Regions from separate parts of the Homo sapiens genome. Here region 1 is linked to region 2. The links are contacts of gene promoters, found by promoter capture Hi-C in blood cells and fetal thymus (Javierre and others, 2016). All regions are on one chromosome and are shown on one strand. Each heading gives the region's core, a stretch centred on a gene start or on the middle of the fragment in contact. The rest is flanking DNA. Distances are from core to core; before and after follow the strand shown.

What was found. The method cuts DNA at HindIII sites, captures the fragments that hold promoters and counts their contacts. A CHiCAGO score of 5 or more calls a contact.
Region 1: a contact is called between a fragment that was not itself captured here and the fragment with the promoter of NXPE3 in region 2, in 5 of 17 cell types (naive B cells, M0 macrophages, total B cells and 2 more). The highest score is 7.5, in naive B cells.

The regions. Positions count from the first base shown.
Region 1 is chr3:102,539,249-102,543,168 of GRCh38, reverse strand. No RefSeq gene overlaps it. Among named protein-coding and RNA genes, the nearest start is that of ZPLD1, 110 kb to the right of the region's middle. The HindIII fragment of the contact is 520 bases long and covers 1,447-1,966 here.
Region 2 is chr3:101,777,359-101,780,940 of GRCh38, reverse strand. It overlaps NXPE3 (neurexophilin and PC-esterase domain family member 3), which reads right to left and starts at 1,730. Exons shown (of 8, transcript NM_145037.4): 1 at 1,617-1,730. RefSeq lists enhancers at 1,008-1,057, 1,622-1,916 and a silencer at 1,468-1,817. The HindIII fragment of the contact is 3,350 bases long and covers 291-3,582 here.

The DNA of each region.
Region 1 (3,920 bases), core at 457-2,956, 760 kb before region 2:
TTGGAGAATTCTATAGTTCAGAGAACTCAAAAAGTGGGAGTAAATAAGCTAAGTAAATTATTTTAAAGAGGTTCTTATAAAGGGCTCATGTGCTGGTTAATTTGGTTTGTGTTCCTTTACTGTGGTCCAAAACGAAACAGGATGATTAACCAGCATCAAGCTAATAAACTTTTAACAGCCTGTTGCCAAGTTCATTAGAAAATTTAACAGCAAAGAATTAACCCTTATATCACTTGCCCACTTGAATTTTGGTGGTTTTAAAAGCATTTATCTTACCCTTACTTCATTCCTTTTTGTTATCAAGGATTCTATTAAGAGCTTACTTCAGTCAACTGGAAAGATCAAACATCTTATATAGACCAGGATGGGGTAAAGTGAAGCGATTTTTCCCTTTAAACTGTTGTTATTACAGGATTCCTTTTTGCACTACCATTGTCTGATGCTGTAGGACATCCAAGCTTATTCTTAGACGTCACTATTCTTGCAACCACCTTAAACATTATAGAAGCCTCCTCCTTTTCCTTTATCTCTCTCCATTATCCTTACTTTGTAACACAGTTTCACAGTGATTCTAAATATTATAACCAAATAATTCAGAGCTTCAGGGACTTTTAAAATGTGACTTATTAAATTCCCAGCCTAACAGGGATTTTGTTTAGTTTAGCCCATTCTGTTTAGTTTAGTTTAGTTTAATGCATTATAAACAGCAAGGCATTGAATTTACAATAATTTTAAGGTCAAGAATTATCTATGATGGATACTCTGTACCAAGTAGTCAAAAATTATGTAGGACTTTAAATCATTTTCAAAAATATATATATAAGGAATGCCATATGCCAAATAACTAAGTAGATGGCCTTAAGTAGATGGCTGTATTTTGTTTTGGGTTTTTGTTTGTTTCTTTTTTGTTTTTTATGGGGTTTTCTTTGTGTGTGTGTGTTTGTTTTGAGATGAGGTCTTCCTCTGTCGCCCAGGATGGAGTGCAATGGTACTATCTTGGCTTACTGCAACCTCCACCTCCCAGGTTCAAGCAATCCTCCCACGTCAGCCTCCTATGTAGCTAGGATCACAGACGTGCCACCACGCCCAGCTAATTTTTTGTATTTTTGGTAAAGAGAGGGTTTCCCCATGTTGTCCAGGCTGGTCTCAAACTCCTGAGCTCAGGCGGTCCACCTAGCTTGGCCTCCCAAAGTGCTGGGATTACAGCTGTGAGCTGCCACACCCGGTATAGATGGCCAGTGTTGATGGTTACAGATAAGACATGAACCTTCCTATCCAAAAGACAATAGTTCAGATGGGATGGGGCTAGAACAATGGGCTGTAAATCAGGAGACTACAATTACCATCCCAATAATATCTTGATCCCATTTATTTTTTTACATTACTGTAATAAGACACTAAGTAGAGCCTTTGGTAAGAGTGGTAGACTTCTGAGTCTTAAAAGCTTGGATTTAAATTCTAACTCCATTATCTAGTTGGCTACATAACCTTGGAAATATTATCTACTTTTTGGATATTCTTCCCTTAAAAGTAAAATGGAATTAGTACTCTAAGATCACAGGATTGTAGCAAGGATTAAATGAGATTATGTTTACTGGCTCAGAAAGCAAAGTACCCAGAGTAGTTTCCTCCTCCTTGTTTCCTTCCTTCATCCCTCTCTCCTCTTACCCCTACTCTTTTTTCTTCCAGGTGCATTTTACTGAGGAATATTTCTCCTCTAAATTACTAGTCATAAATTTGGAATACAGAGGCTATCTCTGAAAAAAGAAGTTGAGGGATAAGTCCCCTTTCTTCATCCCTCTTCAATTTCTTTTCTCCCACCAAACTGCAAGATTAATAATAACTGACCCTCTTGACAGTAAGCAATTGATGTCAAGAATTACTTAGATTGTAGCAAAATATTATTATAGCTGCCAAAGGTAAGTCTTTACCTTCAGCAGATAGAGAAAATAGCATGTTCAAAGCTTAGCATAAATGGGCAGGAATTTTTGGGAAATAGTGAAGGACACAAAGTGGGCAGAGAGCAGGTGTGTGAGATTGTGAGGTAAGAAGGAAATGGATAGGGATAAATGAGGCTGAATAGACAGGCTGAGACCAGGTAGAGAATGTCGTATAAATCAAGATTTCCTATGCATTAACTAGATTTGCCTTAACCAGTGGTCTTCAGAAATTACAACAATTATATTTAAAGCCTATATTTCTCTTTTATTCTGGTGTCGTCCAGATTCAAAAGTTCCAGAAGAACCTCGTCATGTAGAGTAGACTTAATTATAAGGCAGCCAATATCATCAGGATGTTATTGTAGAAATTATCACTTTATAGAAAGATGGGAAATTATTTCTATGAAAATAAACATACACCTGCAAATTCATGATACATCCAATGACAGTACCAGGATAATTGAATTATTCTATTAGAACAGAATTGGGTTATTACTTATACTCTAGCTTATATCCTAATTTTCCCAAGACACATAAAGAGTCATGGAATCTCATCAGAATAAAGGGATTTCCTTTTATGCTTAACTTCTGGAAACTCCTATTAAGATATATCTAAAACTTGAGTCTATGCAGGGAGAGGCATCCTGAATATAGCACATGGAACATACTCCACCACCCAAACCCAGCTTATATTTCCAGTCACTTCTCTCTGGAATCCTTCTTCGTCAAACTCCACACCTACAAAAATCCCATGAACACACATTCCACCAGTCTGCACTGTCCCAAGATTACTGAACCTGTCTTACTCTTTCTTACACTTGAGCCTTTGCATATGCTACTTTCTCTGCCTGAAATATCTTCTTCTGTCTTATTCACCTGGCCAAAGACTAACTGTCTAATCTGCTTGAGTTATTCCTTTACAATTTGGTCAAGGTACTACATGAACAAGATAGATGGAAAATAACTGGTTGGATATTGTGGGTCACAAATTGGAGAAAGATACTAGTAGGGATCTGAGGTAGCATGGAAATCAGTGATGTCCCCATGTTTATGAAGGCTAAATTCAGAGCCCAAACAAATACTTGTGGATCATCTATCATACATATTCTTTGATGCCAGTACTCAAATGCTTAAGGAAAATCTCTCAATACAGAATTTTCCTGGTTCTATTTCTTCTCTTTTTGCTTAGAACTGGATTTAATTGTCTAGACTTTTTATAGCTGTATCTCTGCTTTCACTTTTTCCAAATACAAGCCTAGTCCTTAAAGCTCACATGTCACTGGTCACCGCATCAACTTGGACACTGTTTTACTAGATCAAATATCTAGCCAGACATGGCTCACACCTCTAATCCTAGCACTTTGGGAGGCTGAGGCAGGAGGATCACTTAAGGCCAGGAGTTGAAGACCAGCCTGGGCAACATAGCAACATCCCAGCTCTACAAAATAAAATAATAAAAATTAGCCAGGCGTGGTGATCCATGCCCATAATCCCAGCTACTCAGGAGGATAAATTGAGAAAATTGCTTAATCCCAGGACAGTGAGGCTGCAGTGAGCTATGACTGCACTACTGCACTCCAGCCTGAGCAAGAAAGTAAGACCTTGTCTCAAAAAATAAAATAAAATAAAATGAAAGAAAGAAAAGAAAACAAAAGAATAAAAAGAAGTGAAATCCCAGAAATCTATACTGACTTGTCCAAAGCTATGTAAACAAAAAGTACCAAATCAGAACCAAAATGTGGGCCCCCTGACACCCAGGTCAATATATTTTTCTCCCCAAGAATTTGAGAAGTATGTTCAGTGAAACACTAGCTTCTTGGAGTGGCAATAGCCAGTGCTCAATACATTAGTTCTGTGATCAAGTACATTTGGGAAATTCTGAATTAAACAGAGTTAAGCAGATTTATTTACTGGGAAGCCTTTAGTATGATAATGTATATTGATTTACTAAATATAACAGTGTCTTCAGTTATGTCTTCT
Region 2 (3,582 bases), core at 481-2,980:
AAAAAAGATGAAGCAGGGGCAGTAGTCTGCAGGACTTGTTTCCACAGATTCCATTTCTCCTTCGTGTCCCGCAGCCTCACATGCACAAAGTGCTGACTCATCTGGACCTTCCCTTGCCCTTCTTCCAAAGCAGGGCCCCATGTATTCATGGAGGTTACATAGCAAGTGGAGAAGTAATAAAATCAGTTATATAAGTCACACTGTACTAAGTGCTATTTTTTAAATATTGAACACATTGATAGGTTGTGGTCCTCAACCCTGCATGAACATTAATAATCATCGTGGAAGCTTTTTAAAATACAAACAACTGGGCCCCACTCAAACAATTAAATCAGAATCTGTAGGAATAGGCCCAAGAAGTAGCTTTTTTTAAAAAGGTCCCTAGATGATTACAACATACAGCCAAGTGGGAGAACCACTAGTATAGAGTGGCCAGGGACTGTTATTCGTTTCAGTTGGTAAAAGGATGGCCTTTCCAAAATGATGTTTGAATTGTAACTTAAATTGTCAGGTCAGGACAACCCAATTCCCAGGCAATGGGGAAGGCTAACCCCACTTCAGTGATTTATCCCTTCGTTTCCTTTCTCAGTAACAAATAACAGCACTCTATTGGCCCCAAAGAGATTGTGAGGATAACAGACATGGAAAAAAAAATACTAAACAAATTCAAAGAAAAGCAGAACCCAAACACTACGGAGAAATAGTATACTGCTGCCTCCAAACAATTATCAGGGTCTGGGAGTCCTGCCAGTTTCAAATATATCCTGATGTTCCAAATGATAATTAACCACAGTGAGGAGCGGGGAGGCCCACCAAAGCAGTGTGATTCTTTATCTTTAGGAAATGTGGCAACAATCCCCCTTTAATGTAAATAATGAAAAGCAAAGAAAATTTACAATTTTGCACAAATGCTGCATAAATCCTGCCTCGGAACCCCTCTTATTACCACCCTAGTGGCCTTTGATCAGGCAGAAATGGGCAACAGGCCAGGGTCTCCATATCACACCTTGTAAAGTTACACTCGTTTCTCCCCATACGACCTGAATCTGATGTCCCCAAACGGCAGCTCAGTAAGGCCAGAACAGTCCACCGTGTGACAGCAGCGCCAGCCAAGAGGCAGCTGGTGCCCAGAGCAGCGATGAGCCGAGAGATATGAGATGGGCAGGGAGGCGTCGCCAAGTGCTCCGCACCGGGTTAGTGAAGGTGCCTGGAGGACAGAAGTCTTTCGCTGCGGCGTGGAGGTCCGAACTGTACCGAGCTGTGGCGTTGCCGCAAGTGGAGGAAACTGAGGATGGAGATGCTCGCTCCCGGCCCCGCCCCGCCCCGCCCCGCCGGTACTAGCCTGGGCTCCGGCTTCTTAGCTGCGACGCTTTGGCAACCCAGGGCTCCAATTCTGCCTATGCCTTCGACCCGGGCCTCCCCTCCCTGGCACCTATGCCCACAGCCACGACTCCAGGGGCTGCACCTATCAGCACGGGGCTGGGGACTCGGGAGCAGATGCGCGCGGAGGGAGGGGCTTCGCAGTCTAGGAGCGCGCTGGCAGAGCCGGGCAATGGGTCGCTCCGCCCGCAGCGGCCCCTCCCGACGTCCGCACACAGACCACATCCAGCACTCACCTCCGGGACCCGCCCGCCCTTCGCTCTCCGGGGGCCAGGGATCCTGACGCCCCGGTCGGTCGCCGCAGCGCCAGGCCGCTAGCCCCCCGCTTCCTCACCCGGCGACGTCTCCTCACCTCCGACCCCCGGCTACGATTGGTGGAGCTTCGGCGGGGGCGGGCCGAGGGCGTTGACTGACAGCAGCACGCGCCGGGCGGAACCCACAGGCCTGGAAGCGAAGTTGGCACCCTGGCGCTCTACGCCGCCAAGCTCCTGCTCGCGACGCGACACTGCAGCTGTCGCCCCGCGGATCGAGGTCTGGCCCCTCTCACGACCCAACTCCTCGTGAACTTCGGACGTCTGAGTTTCCTGGGAGCATCCACCTACCTCAAGGCTTTTCGCTTGTCAGCGAAAGTGCCCACAACCGCAGTTGACTCTAGTAGGGCAGTCTTTCCTGTGGAGTGATGGAATTTATTGTGCCCTGAACCAGAGAAATGCGATTTGCCAAGTATAAGCACGGATATAGCGGATCCTTGAATCTTTTCCTTGCTTTGACATTAGTCAACAACTTCTACTCGCCAGTAAAACAGCCCGTTCCTTTTACTCTCACTGTACATGATGTCGGTCTCTTGGCAAAGCATACTTTCCTCACCCTCCACCATCCCCAATTCTGGGTTATCCTATTTTGGACATTTTTCTAACTGGTAAAACGTCGGTAGCAGTTTTGTGAAATTCAGGAACTGAGAGGAGTCCTGAGAAGACACTTGTTCAAGAAACCAGAAGGAATTGTGGGCTGCACCGTGTTTCTCTGTGCTTGGAGCACAGTGGGGTTAACACAGGCCCCAAAAGCAGGCCTGCCCCCGGACTATTACCCCAAGGTTTAAGAAAAATAATTAATGTACATGACAACTAAGTATTTTTCCATTTCTTGACCATAATGGACTCTGCATGCTCATTCAGATGTTTTCATGGCAGGCCTGCTTCGTGGGCAACCAGATCCGTGAATGGGATAAAAGGAAGTTCTGCCACAGGGTGGAAGATCTCTTCTGTAGTAATGATCTTCTTTTTTTTTTTTTTAATATACTTTAAGTTCTAGGGTACATGTGCACAACGTGCAGGTTTGTTACATATGTATACATGTGCCATGTTGGTATGCTGCACCCATTAACTCGTCATTTACATTAAGTATATCTCCTAATGCTATCCCTCCCCCCTCCCCCTACCCCACAACATGCCCAGGTGTGTGATGTTCCCCTTCCTGTGTCCAAGTGTTCATTTATGCAGCCAACAAACACATGAAAAAATGCTCATCAGCACTGGCCATCAGAGAAATGCAAATCAAAACCACAATGAGATACCATCTCACACCAGTTAGAATGGCGATCATTAAAAAGTCAGGAAACAACAGGTGGTGGAGAGGATGTGGAGAAGTAGGAACACGTTTACACTGTTGGTGGGACTGTAAACTAGTTCAACCATTGTAGTAATGATCTGATACTCCTTCTTCCTCGAGGAAATACAGCACTCTGGGACCTTTTGAGGACATAAAAGGGTAGCTTCCTTCTGCTATCGAAGAAGAGCCTCATATACTAGACTTCTGCTCTGATTATGCTTTATCTCCCAGTAGGATCCCCCGCCTCATGTACAGCTTGGCTGTCTTACAAGTGGTAAAATACTTAGGACAAGATGACTTCTAGGTCATGGTTTTGGACCTCATTGACCCCATTCTCCCCCAAGCACTCATAACCCTGAGGCATTTGAGTGATCTTACCTATATTTACCTATATTTTACAGTCATAACCACAAATAAGAGCAGCCACTGCACTCCAGCCTGGGTGACAGAGTGAGGCCCTGTCTCAAAAAATAAAAAAATGTTTATATGATGATATGAAACCAAAGGAACTGGTCATTTCTGCCCCATCTGAAAATGTAGTTTACACACTAGTGTTTATTAATGCTAAACTTGATTCTCTAAGCAAAACAAAGC